Linked DNA regions of Homo sapiens: all the other regions are linked to region 1. The links are contacts of gene promoters, found by promoter capture Hi-C in blood cells and fetal thymus (Javierre and others, 2016). All regions are on one chromosome and are shown on one strand. The core of a region is centred on a gene start or on the middle of the fragment in contact, and the rest is flanking DNA. Distances in the headings are between cores, read along the strand shown.

Evidence for each region. Contacts are between HindIII fragments. The CHiCAGO score rates a contact against its expected background, and 5 or more counts as called.
Region 2: a contact is called between a fragment that was not itself captured here and the fragment with the promoter of RHOBTB2 in region 1, in 1 of 17 cell types (non-activated CD4 T cells). The highest score is 5.0, in non-activated CD4 T cells.
Region 3: a contact is called between a fragment that was not itself captured here and the fragment with the promoter of RHOBTB2 in region 1, in 1 of 17 cell types (fetal thymus). The highest score is 5.9, in fetal thymus.
Region 4: a contact is called between a fragment that was not itself captured here and the fragment with the promoter of RHOBTB2 in region 1, in 2 of 17 cell types (fetal thymus and naive CD8 T cells). The highest score is 6.8, in fetal thymus.

What each region holds. Positions count from the first base shown.
Region 1 is chr8:22,998,298-23,001,504 of GRCh38, forward strand. It overlaps RHOBTB2 (Rho related BTB domain containing 2), which reads left to right and starts at 1,251. Exons shown (of 10, transcript NM_015178.3): 1 at 1,251-1,808. RHOBTB2-AS1 (RHOBTB2 antisense RNA 1) reads right to left here and starts at 1,508. Exons shown (of 2, transcript XR_007060857.1): 1 at 1,382-1,508. RefSeq lists silencers at 931-1,190, 1,411-1,580, 1,911-1,960. The HindIII fragment of the contact is 10,673 bases long and covers 1-3,207 here.
Region 2 is chr8:23,427,912-23,431,118 of GRCh38, forward strand. It overlaps ENTPD4 (ectonucleoside triphosphate diphosphohydrolase 4), which reads right to left. Exons shown (of 13, transcript NM_004901.5): 13 at 1,251-3,207. Among named protein-coding and RNA genes, the nearest start is that of LOXL2, 25 kb to the left of the region's middle. The HindIII fragment of the contact is 1,281 bases long and covers 827-2,107 here.
Region 3 is chr8:22,641,314-22,644,520 of GRCh38, forward strand. All of the region lies in intron 2 of BIN3 (bridging integrator 3), which reads right to left. BIN3-IT1 (BIN3 intronic transcript 1) reads right to left here and starts at 896. Exons shown (of 1, transcript NR_027715.1): 1 at 1-896. The HindIII fragment of the contact is 2,522 bases long and covers 509-3,030 here.
Region 4 is chr8:22,680,839-22,684,045 of GRCh38, forward strand. LOC107986924 (a long non-coding RNA gene) reads left to right here. Exons shown (of 2, transcript XR_001745827.2): 1 at 1-3,207. Among named protein-coding and RNA genes, the nearest start is that of EGR3, 11 kb to the right of the region's middle. The HindIII fragment of the contact is 3,949 bases long and covers 1-3,207 here.

The DNA.
Region 1 (3,207 bases), core at 1-2,500:
TTTGCATTTTCAGAGCACAAGATGGAGGAGTGGTGGAGGCGGTTCAGGTGGGTGGCAGGCTGGTCTGGGCTTTAAAAATTGTCCAGAGGTAACTGAGGAGATGAATCAAACCAGACTGAGCTGACTACTTAACACTAGCAGTCAAGATCATCCTGGCTGGGCATGGTGGCTCACGCCTGTAATCCTAGTACTTTGGGAGGCCAAGGCAGGCAGATCACCCGAGGTCAGGAGTTCGAGACCAGCCTGGCCAAGGTGGTGAAACCCCGTCTCTACCAAAAATACATAAATTAGCTGGGAATAGTGGCGTGCACTTGTAGTCCCAGCTACTCGGGAGGCTGAGGCAGAACTGCTTGAACCCAAGAGGCGGAGGTTGCAGTGAACCAAGATTGCACCACTGCACTCCAGCCTGGGCAACAGAGGGAGACTCAAAAAAAAAAAAAAAAAAAAAAGATTATCCTGATAAAACCAGCCTTGAATATGGAAAGTGTCTTCTAGGGACCCCTCAGGTTATAGATGTTATACCTTAGAATCTCTCTATTTTACAGAGGGGTAAATTGAGGCAGAAAACCCAAAGAAGGCTTAGGGACGATTTTCGAGGCTACTCACTTCATGGTGTTTCTTTCAGAGATTAGCAGCTATTACTGAACTCCAGGAGGCAACAGGAGGGGGATGGGATGGAGGTGGGGACCCGCTGAAGAAGGCCTAGGTGGGAGACAGGTAACGTGGTACAGGTACCCACCCCACAACTCATTAAGGGCCATGGAGGGAGGAAGGCTCTCAAGTGCCACGAAAATTCCCAAAGCAGCAGAGGGCTTGTATGGAAACGCCGGTTATTCGTCCCTACCCGGCCCCCGCCCCCCGCCCCCCCGACTGCCCCTGCCGTCGCCTCCCCGTGGGCAAGTGGTGGGGGCCTGGGCTTACAACCACACGTTCTCCTCCAACTAGCATCCCTTCCAGGGTGCACTAGGATGCCTCTCAGAGGTTCTCCCCCGCCTCCCGAAGGAAAGGGGAAAACCCCGTGGGCGTCCGGAGAGCCTTTGCGCCTCGCCAGGTGGAGGGACCGGCGCCACCCAGACCCGCGAGCCGAGACCCTCCCCGCGGCGTCGCTGCGGGAGGGGCGGAAGAGCGCGGGCGGTGGGCGGGAGCGGTGCTGCGAGGCGGGATCTGCGGGGCGTCCAATCCCCTTCTTCCCCCGCCCGCCCCCTCCCCGCCCCCCGAACGCTTTCCACCAACTGCGCGCGGCAGTGGGCGGGGCCCGTCACGGCTGTCGTCTTGGGTGCGATTTTTTTCTCCTCCTTTTTTTACCCTCCCGTTTTTTTCTTTTCTTTTTTTTTTCCCTATCCTTTTTTTGTGAATGAAAAAAGGAGGTCGCGAGCGGTACCTGGGACTGCAGCGCCAGGCGTCTTCGCGGCAGCGCCTTCGCCGCGGGCCCGGGCGCGTAGCGGCGGCGGCCTCGCCCCTCTCCCGGCGCCCCTGCGCGCCGCCCGCTGCCTCCGCAGCCCGGCTCCGCGCGCCGCCGTGACATTGGGCGCCTGGCGCGCGGGGCGATGCTGATCCGGAAGGGGCAGCGGCTGCAGTGCAGCGCGCGCGTCCGCTCCTGGGCCCACGTCCGGCCTGGGCTGCCCTGCCGGAGTTTCTGAGTGGCCGCGAGCTGGCCGGGAGGCTGGAGCCCAGCAGCAGCGCGGCGGCGCCGGCGTCGTCCCAACTTGCAGGCGCGGAGGGACCCCTGACATTTCACTAAAATGAGCGTGCTCAGCAGGAAGAGATGTGTTCCTCACGCTAGAAGCCACCCCGTCACATGTAGTGGTGTAAGTAGATGGCTGCTTGCGGTTATGGCGGGGTGGCCAGCAGCCCTTGCAGACGCGCCGCTCCGCCCTCCCTGCCCTGCCGCGCCCCTCGCTACGTTCCCCGGGCCCCGCTAGTCCCTGGGCTCTGGCTTCGGCTGCTGGGTACAGCGGGGCTGGAGCCTAATCCTTTCCGGTGTTTCTAGGGAAAGGAAGATGACTTGATTGCTTCGGCCTGTCGTGCCCCTCCCCCTTCTCGATGTTTAAAAATTTTTAAATTTCTATTTTGTGTGTGTGCAGAGTAGCGTGTCAGAAAAAAGGAAAAACGGTCCAGAGTGGTGGGAGTGATTCTGTTAAGAAAACAAACACAAAACAACAGTGGAATTGGGGTGTTTTGCTGGCGGTTCCGGAGCTGGTTCTTTGAACTCAACTCCATTGCAGTCTATGTAACTGAGTTCTGTGAAACTACTGGGGAGATCTTTGGCGGTGTTTGGTGATGTGTCCACATTTTAGGTTTGAGGGGGCTTATCTGTGTTTAGGCTTGCATTTCTTTAATCTGACCATTCAGGGTCCCTTTGGGCCTTGCTTTCTGTTGGATCTGCACGGGGCTTCTTGCAATGCCAGCGACCCCCGTGGGAGCCTCCCCGAATTAGGAGTCCACTCTCTCTTTGTTCTTCTCCTTCCAATTCTCCATTCAATCCATCTCCCTTGATTTTACCTTCATTTTCAGGATTTTCCTCCCATTCCCATTTTGTAAGATGATGTGGGATACTGGTTGCTAGGAGACAAGCCAGGCTCCCAGGGAGATTCTGTTGTTTCCTTGACAACCAGACTAGGGCAGCCACAGATGAACAAGCCTCCTATCAGCTGTGGGAGGGAAAGGGGCCCTTTCTGAGCTCTGCAAAGAGTGTGTGTAGGGGTGTGGGGGTGGGACTGGGAGAGCACGAGGTTTGTAGCTAATTTCAGCACACCTTGGGTTTTGGCTTGCACCAAGTACAAAGAGCTGGGAGAGCGGTGGGCAGGAGGCTGTTTTTGGAGGGGCACAGGGATCATGGGACAGGGATGGAAGGAACACATGCCAGTGACTTTGCGATTGTCATGGAAGAGGAGTGAGTTGGGGGTTGTGATGCCCAGGGCTGGGTGGTGAGGAGGTCATAGTTTATGGAGGTTGATTGAGTGGGGATGAGGCAATTGTGAGGGAGAGTCTGGAGTCAGGGAAGAAGAGAGAGCCGGAGGGAGAGGGGAAGCTGAGAGGCTCACTGAATGGGCTGTATCACCATATATCAGCAATGAGTGGGCTGTATCACCATACATCAGCAATGATACAACATCAGCAACATCCTAGGGCAAAAATTATATTACTCTTGGCACACTCTCTCCAGGACAGGATCCTCCTTTAAGACAGGCCTGATTAGACTAAGAG
Region 2 (3,207 bases), core at 217-2,716, 430 kb after region 1:
AGACGAGGTGGGGCCAGGAAGACTCTCACAGGATTGCCTTTCATGCTGCCACGGATGGATGCTCCAGGCAGATCCACTCTGCCAAGGCGTGCTTTGGGATTAGCCGGGCACTCCTTTGTCTTTTCATGACGTTTCCAAAAGAAGACACTGTGACTCTGACAGAGGTGACCTGCACCTCACGACCCCCTCTGTGCAAACCATTAGCATTTCCGGATCTCAAAAAAACCAAAAAAACCCACAGGGCACATGCCAATTCATAGGACAAATGGAAACAGACTGAAAACAAAAACACAGAACCATGGCTTTTCAGACCTGTCAACATGGTTAGTGTTGGAAATAGGCACTGACTTCTCTTCCACCAAGTGGAATAAAAATTTAGATGTCTTTTAACATCTTAGATATTTTAACGTATTTAAAGTCAGGCAAAAAGCCCTATAGTCATTGCACTGCCTCAAAAATTATTTACGACAGTTCTATCTTAATGCTGTGTCCTGTTTTCCTAGCGATCAATGGCTTGAGGACCTCCCTTGAGCTCACTTTGCTGGCTCTGTTCTCTCATTTTGTTTTTGCGCTTCCCTCTCCTCTCCGGCATGTCTCAGGCCTTTATTTTTGTTGGTCCTAACAGCTGGTCCCCTTCCCTTCCCATCTGTCTCTATCATCTATTTTCAGGTTATGGCTCAGGCCCACCTTCCTGCTCCAGGAGAACATCTATGTATTCTCCAACGGCTGAGAAACATGCTGAGCGTCTAATGTCATCCTCCATATTGGTAACACGTAACATTAATAATGACAGTCATAATTTTCTGGAAGTAAGCCAAAGGTTCTAAGCTTAGATCGAACTGCAAAACAGTGTAACATAAAGTCAGCATTTGCTGTTACTATTAAATACATAAAAATTGGTTAATTTTATTACTTTTCCTTGTCTATATACAAGTAGGTACTTAAAATGGTGACCTTATAAACAGTCATCTCAGAGTGGCAATTATTGTTGGTGAATGGCTTAACGTCGTGGGTTGGTCACTACTTGTGAAATATCTGCTTTCTGAGCTGCAGAGAGTGTGGACGCCCTCTCCACAACCCCACACAATTGTGCTTCACTGTATGCACACCCAACACAACACATGCAAAGAGTGTGCGTCAGACTCAGACAATGTATTTCACTGAATTTGGACTCAAGTTCAACTCATCATTCTAATGAGTAAGAAGATTCAAAGATGACAAGGAAGCAAGCCCACACAGTCTACGGGCCATGGGATGATGAACTTTCGTTTTATTGATTTTTCAGTACCCAAGTGTGGCACTGTAAGGCTGCCACATACAGCAAGTGACATGACACCAAAAGGACCTTCCGAGAGTATTATTCTTACTTTGGATGGAAGACATCGCTTAAACAAAAAACATTTAAAGATGCTCCCTTGCTTTTTATAATTCCTAACTGTAAAATATAATTTTAGTACAGAACAAACAAATTCTCCTTGGTTGGTCACATCATTCATTATTGAAAGGGAAACTTAGTATCAAAAGAAACAAAACACTGAAATAAATAACTAAGTAATTTACTGAAAGGTAGTTTTGTTGCATTGCACACAACTGACCGCAGAGAATTCTAAAGCTGATTTTTTTCTTAAAGGATGAAAAACTCATTTGCCATTTTTAGTTTCTTGCTAAGTGATACATGCTCCTTATAAGGAAAACTACTCTGTGTAGGCCTGAGTTTAAAATGTAAATATCTGTTTATCCAGAGTTTGTTAATCTAGAGTACACAGATGTGGAAAACTGGTGGTGAAAAGAGGGACCTACCCAGCCTTCAGGGTGGCTGGGCAGGGGCCCCATGTTACTGGCCTCAGCCACCAGCAGCGTCTTCACTCCGCCCAGGTCAGAAAGCACTGCCTAAAGCCGGAGCTTAGGATGAACATGGGCAAAAAGCACTGGTACAGTTCCATGTGTTTCTCTTCTACTGTAATGTCCCCAGAGGGATTGTGAAATGTCTGAGAACATCCCCTGGAGGAGGTTTAAAAGTGAGAAGCCCATGATATGGCTATGGAACATAAGCACTTATTGCTGGCATGTTTCTACCAAGATTGAACACAATGCTTTTCTTTGATAAAGCTTTGGGCAAGTTCCTAGTCCAATTTCTTCTGCTACAAGTACACAGAATTTACTGCCTTCTTGGTCAGCTCTTGGTATGAATTCTTCTCTTGAATTAAGATCCTCCCTGGCTTGTCTCTCACCCACCCTGTATCTCTTAGAGAAAGCACCTGGCTGTCTTCACCTACGCGAGACCTTCTCTGGAATGTGATTTGCTGCGACTGCAGACATCTCCATACGGCATAATGAACTCCCTTGAGTGGTCTCTTTTTAAACAATTTTGGGTGAGGGGCAGGTTTCTTGGTTTGTTTCAAAACTCATCTTGAAAATAATCTAGACGGAAAAATCCGAAGTGAAATTCTGGTGCAACAAATATTTTAAGATTGAAGTTTGGTTACTTCTCTTGTCCATCTTTTCGTGCCCACAAATGGAAACTACATTCCTGATTTAAGAGGATGCTTCTGTCTGTATCCTTTTTTGAACTGCATTGTTCTCACAAGGACCAGCAAACTTTTTCTGTAAATATTTTAGTAAATATTCTAGGCTTTACAGGCCACATATAGTGTCTGCTGCATATTCTTCAACGTTTTTTCTTAGGCAACTGTTTAAAAATGGCAAATCCACTACTACCTCTCAGCTGGAGCAATGAGGTTTTCTCAGCCCTTGTTTCAGGATCCTCAGGTATGTGACTAACTCTTCTATGCCCAGAGCTGGAAGGCGGGGTCCCCTAACTCCCTGGGTGCCCACCTGCCCACTTCAACCATTTGTGGCCCCTTCCTTTCCTTTCTTCCCTCTCTGCTGCTGACACCAGTGGCTCCATCGCCAGCTCCCTGCAGCCTCCACCAATAATCCATGGCTCCTCCAGGAAGTGTCGCAGGCAGGTGGCCAAGACCAACTTATTAGGTAGCCAGAAGCTCACCCCTTTCTTAACAACTTTGACCACGAAGCGCAAATACGATGCAGGTAAATCCAGAGGCAGAGCCTGGGTCCCCAGGCTGCTGGTAACACGCTTTGAAATCCAGGTGAGGGAGCCATGCCCCCACAGCTCTTGCCTCAAGGATCAGATGCATTTTACCTTCCAGAGACGCAGGTTAAGCTGCACCTGAGGCAGTTTGAGCC
Region 3 (3,207 bases), core at 520-3,019, 360 kb before region 1:
CATTCTCCAAGGCCCACGGTGGGAGGAAAGGGTTTTGCTGTTCCCTGCTCTTTTGGCAGTGCACAGGTCAGGCCCTGGCACAGAGTGGGAACTCAGTATGAAGTGAATGAACAGGCTGAGTTCCCACCCAAACTTATGCTCATGGTGAAGTGAAAAAGGAAACTGGCAGGCAGGGCTGGGGCACTGATCCCAGGGCTGAGGTGCATCTGATCGGAGTCTGAGAAGCCCAGAATCCTCAGCATTCTGGGAAGCCCCTCCTTCAAGGGATGCTCTGCGTGGAAAGTGGGCTCCCTGTAGGTATGTTCTAGCAGGATTAAGCAGGATTAACGAGGCTAAGGGCCCCGCCACCTGGCAGATGAAAATCCTTCTCCAGTGGAGAGGCTGCATGTGGCCAGACTCTCTTTGCCCTAACTTTGCAGAGCACCCACCTGGCTAGGAACCTTGGAGCGCATGTTCCTTGTGTGCAAGACTCACAGTAACCCTTGTTTCAGGGGGACACGAAGAGCAAAGCTTCGAAGAGCTCTTCCATCCTCCCAGGTTATGGAGGAAGGTGTGGCGGCTTCTTCCTACGCTACGATGCTCCCGCCACTTTATGGGACCTGGGGAGTGGGAGGGGACTGGGTGGAAGGTTAGGATCGGGATCGGGGGAGCTTTTGTTCCTCCATCTCAGTTCTAATGGTCAGCCCCAGCAGGAACAAGCCATTCTAGCCAAAGCCTTGACAATAATGGAATTTGTGTTAATAACCTGGGCACAGGAGAGCAGTGAGGGTAGGGACACAATGCTTTCTTTGTGCCTGACAGTTGGGTGCCTTGAGCCAAAAACCTCCTGAAACTCCCTGAAGATAACGTGAGCATTTCTTCCCATGACAGGGGCTCCATGACTTCCAATAACCCAGGCAGCCACAGCTGCTCCCCTCCCTGAAAGTGCCTGGGCAAGAACAACAGAGTGCGTCACTGCTGTTCAAGGGCAGCTGCCAGAGATGCTGAGACAACTGCACAGCCCAGGCCTGTTTTGGGGGCCGGGAGGGGGTGGTGGGTGGGGAATGAGACTGAAGAGGCAGGGTCTTACTACTTCTACTTCAGTGCCTCTGGGGAGTGGAGGGGTATAGGCCAGGGAAGCAAATAACTACTCCGAGCTGTAGCTCAGCTGTGATTCCTTGTGAGAGATCAAAGGCCCAGCCGACTTTTGTTGCGTTGGGAAATCTAGCTGCCTGGGACAGGCTGAGTCCCTGATGGTTCATAAAGAAGGTCAAATCAACCAGCTTCCTGTGATGTAGTTAACTGGGGACTTATTTTGTGCCAGACACTGTGTTAGGTGCCTTCAGTGTATTATCTTGTGTGAGCCTCAAAGTAACATCTGTGACACAGGTACTGTCATCATCCTGATTTTATAAACGAGAAAATGAAGGCTCCAGAGGTTAAGGAACTTGCCCAAGGTCAGAGACAGCATGTGGCAGGGCCAGGATGGGGACCCAGGCTGCCAGCCTCCCAAACCTAGTTTCTTAACCCCTACCTGACCCCCAGTCTATCAGAGAGCAGATGCCATAATCAGAGGACCACAATTCCATCTCCAGCGAGACAGATGCGAGGAAGGGAAGAGGGATGCCCTGTGTGCATCTGCCCGCACTGCGAGTCCTTGCCACTCCTTAGATCAACGGAGCCAGAGATCTTGCCACCAACACACTGGCAAAGCAGCTGGTTTGTCTACACTTTCTGTGGAGAACAAAGTTCATTTTGATAAAGGTTGGGGTGCTGGGAGGGTTTTTGTTTGTAGTGAGCATTCAGAATAAAAGAACCCTCTTGAAACCACTTCCCTTTCAGATCTGTCATGGATTAAACTCTGGAGACTCAAAGCCACACCTTCCCACTTCCTGCAGCCGGCTAGAGACCAACATATGCACACCCAGATTCTTTGGACTTCAGCTGAGAGCCTCCACAGATGGTCAGCCTCTGCATGAGAGGTCAGCGCTGAGTTGGTCAGCACCCTGCCTCTGCATGAAGCAGAGAGGCCCCACCCCCCAACTTTTTTTTTTAACAGACAGGGTCTCAGTCTATCACCTAGGGTGGAGTGCAGTGGTGCAATCAGAGCTCACTGTGGCCTCGAACTCGTGCGCTCAAGCAGTCCTCCTGCTTTAGCCTCCCAAGTAGCTGGGACTACAGGCGTGCATATTTTTTGGTAGAGTCGGGGTCTCTCTTTGTTGCCCAGGCTGGTCTCAAACTTCTTGCTTGAAATGATGCCCCCACGTTGGCCTTCCAAAGTGTTGGATTACAGGCGTAAGCCACTGGACCCTGTGAGGGTGCTTTTAACTTGGGCCTGTTTCCTCTCAAGTGACCTTACTCTGGATTTGCTAGAGATGGAGCCATTGGTCAGATGTGTGCCAAACTTCTCACCACACTGAAGCAATCTCTTTCCTGTACTTTTGAGAGCTCTGCCAAGGAGGGGAGAAGCTAGTAAGACAAGGAGAACCGTCAGGGGCTGGGATGACAGACGAGGGCCTCTGCCGCCAGCACAGCACCGGACTTCCTGTAGCTGTCACATCAGAGAGGCTCTACAGTTGTGGTCTCCCATGTTAAAACCAAGAGACCCACTCAGATTTGTGGGTCAGGAGGTTGAAAAGGCTATTTTGCACCGGGATTCCAAAACACTGGGAGGGCTTCACTGCCCAGGGAAGCATGAGGCAATGGAAAGAGTATCAGCCAGGGGCTCACGCCTGAGTTCTAACTCCAGCTTTGCCAGTGTGGGGTTTTTATAACTTGAGGAAGTCATTGCAACTTTCCACGGGCCTCATTTTCTTCATCAGGAAAAATCAGGAGGTTGGACTAGATGGTCTCTATGAGCTTCCAGCTCTAACTTCCTAAGAATCTATGATTCTCTTCCTTTCCCATTCTGGAGATAAAAACTTTCTAGGGATAAAAACTGTGGGCTTAAAGGGGGGTGGGATTCAATCTTCCTTTCCTGCTGAGTGACTCTGGGTCATGGCCAAGAATGCATTTGGAAGTTGACACAAACAGGCCGAGGCCACTGGGAAAAGCTTCCTGGAGTTTTCTGCAGCTGAGGTAACAGAAATAAATGCCTGGGCAGTGTCTTTGGTGGGGGCCACTCTTTCAGGAACACTCTTAGGAAAAGTATAGACCACAAGCCAGTCCCTAGAGGTGGACCGTTCTAAAGCAATATCTTCCTCTACATTTTTGTAATCCACCCATTCC
Region 4 (3,207 bases), core at 527-3,026, 320 kb before region 1:
CCATGCTGAACACTGTACCTGGCTTAGTAGTTTTGCTAAATTCATGGATGAATGAATGAAATGTGAAGAAGCTCCGGATGATGCCAAGTTGCAAGGGAAAGCCAAGAACTGAGGGGAACTTTTGGGAGGCATGAAATGGAAGACCAAAAAAGGTGGGGAGAGGGAGGAAGAAATGTTTTTTTCTCAGGCATGAAACTGCCTAGGCTAGGCCATAGAAATGATGTTACTAGACGGAGATTTGCCAGAATCCAGGGAAATAGAGAGGATGTGGCAAGCGGTATTGCGGATCAAGTGATTTTTGGGCTCAGGGCCCGGGATATGGGTGAGAATGTGACCATATTGGAAGAACCTGACCATCCACCAGCTTTTTGCCAAGGGAGAGAACATGGTCAATCTAGCCACAGACAAAAGAGGGAGCTGGCTTTGCTGGAGCGATTTCTGAGAGATGAGGCCAAGGGAGATTCCCACTCCTAGGCTGGCCAGCAGGAAGAGTCATTCATCTCATTAGGAACTTGGCACGAAGGCAAGTGTCAACAGGAAGAGAGAAGGCTCTTGGTTATGGTTCTTGAAGGAGGCACTTCTGTCTCTCCTTGGCCAGGCTGGAGTTTAGGAATCATTGGTGGTCTTTGACATCTCAGATGTGAAAGAAAGACTAAGGAGACTGCAGTCAGGGGATGACAGAGCCGAGCAGAGGAATGGGGGCGTTGAGGGCTGAAAGGACATGGTACCTGCAGCCCAGGGCTGGCCTGGCAGTCCAGTTAGTACAGGTCGGGGCTCTGCTCAGGGGTCGTGGGGCCTTTCCCTCACTATTAGCCTTCAGCATTTTTTGCTTCTTTTGGACACATTCATTTCCTTTAAAGCGCTCCCGTGACCTGGTCCCATACTATCTCTCCGACTTCATCTCCTATTGTCACCTCCCTTCCTTTCCAGCCACTCTGCCTCCATGTTACTCTTCGAACTTCCAAGAATACCATGCTCTCCTGAGGACTTTTGCACCCAGACAGTTCTTCCTCAGATGGCCACGTGGTCCATCCTGTCACTTCCTGGGCCTGTGCTGAAAGACGCCTCCCTGTGAAGCCGTCCCAGATCACTCGTATGTGATTGTAATCCCCTTCTCCCAGTGCTAGCCGTTCTCCTTCCTCTGCTGTATTTTTCTCCATAACACACATCACAATCGGACACAACACATATTTGCTTGTTTGTTTTTTACCTGTTTCTGCCCTGGAGAAGGTAAGCTGTGACAATGCAGGCCTTTTTGTTCACTGCTATAACCCCGGTGCCTAGAAGAATGTGTTGCACATGGCAGGCCCTTGACACACATTTAAATAAATAAACAAAGCAATTAACCTTTCTGTGGGACCTTCCACTGATTGTCAGGATCTGAATTCTCACCTCTGCCCTTCCTAGATGTGTGAGTTTGGACAAGTCACGAACCCCTTTAGGCCTCTGTTTCCTTATCTGAAAAAGAGCATGTTGGACTAAATGGCATCTTAAAGTCCCTTATGGCTAAAATTTAGGGAGAATCCCTGAAGGAAGTGGGACCTTGAGGTAAGGGCCTGATGTCCATGATTCTCTCGCAGAATTAAAGCCCTGCATTCCATTAAAGCCCTGCATGCCACCTCTGCCCCCAGACCAGGCCTGGGCAGAAGCAGGGCCACCAGCCCTGCAGCTGGAAGCTAAGAGCTAGCCAGAAGGCTGAGGTCAAGGACTGATGACTAAGATGAAGGGAAAGAGATGGACGGGGCAGAACTGGGGCTGCTGCGTTTTATTTAAATCCATGATAAGGATCAGGAAGCAGGCAACAGCCCGATGACACATTAATTAACTTTGCAGATGATACTGGATCAGGAAGGTGTCCCATCCACCCATCTCAGCGAGAGAGATGGGACAAAAGGACCTGAGGAGGGGTCAGGAATTAGGCCAGGAAATTACAACAATGAACTTTGGCTGTGGCCAAGAGGGGAAAGGACTCATGTTCTCTCGAGTGGATTGGGGGTAGGGTGGAGAGGATCTATTTTCAGAACACAGATAAGCAGTGGATGGTAGGGGCTGGGAGTGGTGGCAGGGACCGCGAGGTCCCCTGGTTGTTTGAATTGATGTACTGATCCCCAGTGGAGACAGAGCCTGTTTTCTTGCCACTGTGTTTGGAGGAAGGGGACGGGGTAAGGGACAGGGAAGATAAATGACATTGATGGAGCACCCACCATGAACCAGGCACCATACACAGTATCTCATTTAAACTCCGCAACAGCAATGATAAGACAAGAGGAAATAATGGGTCACATAGACTAAGAAGTTTCTGAGAGTCACACTGCCAGAAAGTGGCAGAGTTGAGATTCAGATGTAGGAGGGAGGCGATGGTCCCAAAGTGGGTTAAGGGCCCCAGGAGAAAAACCAGAGTAGCTGCCAGGTTATCAAACTGCCTCTTCATTTTTAGGACTGAAACCTAAGTAAGTAACAAGTACCCAAAAGAAGACTTTCATTAGCACCCTGGGGTTCCACGGGTACTGGAAGTTTTCTTCTCTCCCTCCTGCTGGGACCAACCTGACCTTCCTAAGCAGTGCAGAGAAAGGAACGGGGAGGAATGGAAGACTGTCAGGCATCTGGACAATGTGGAGGGGTGACGCCAAGGAAAAAAAAGTGTGAGAGCTCTTGCAGCCTGTTGTGGAAAAGATACCAAAGGGCTCAAAGGCTCAGTTCTGTTCTGGCCACTAACCTCTCTGTCTTTGGTGAGAACAGGGTACTGATGGATTCTAGGTGAGTGAATGGTCACCTCTGGGGTGAGCCATTTCAGAGAATACAGGCCCATAGACAAGGATAGGTACCCCTGAAGAGGGCTTGGGGTGTGCCCGGACTCAAGGGTGACAGACATCTCTATTCCTCTAGGGAGCTGACAGCTGGAGGCATTCCTGAAACTCTAGCTAGGAACTCAGTGCGTGACCCAAAAGGGAATCCCAAACAACAAGTCTATGATTGAGCAGTCTGTTTCTGGTTGGGTCATGATGCCACAACAAACGGCCCAAGTAGAGAAGGCTGCAGGCCCTGGGCAGGCCTGGTGAGAAGGGCTGACCCAAAGGACAGCCATTGTGCTCCAAGCAGCATGAGCAGGGCTCAGGGGCACCATCGGAGCAAGGATAGGATCGGAGGGTGTGGAACCCGAGAGTTTCCCAGGAATGGGGTGAAGGAAGGGTTGATAGGAGCAGCACG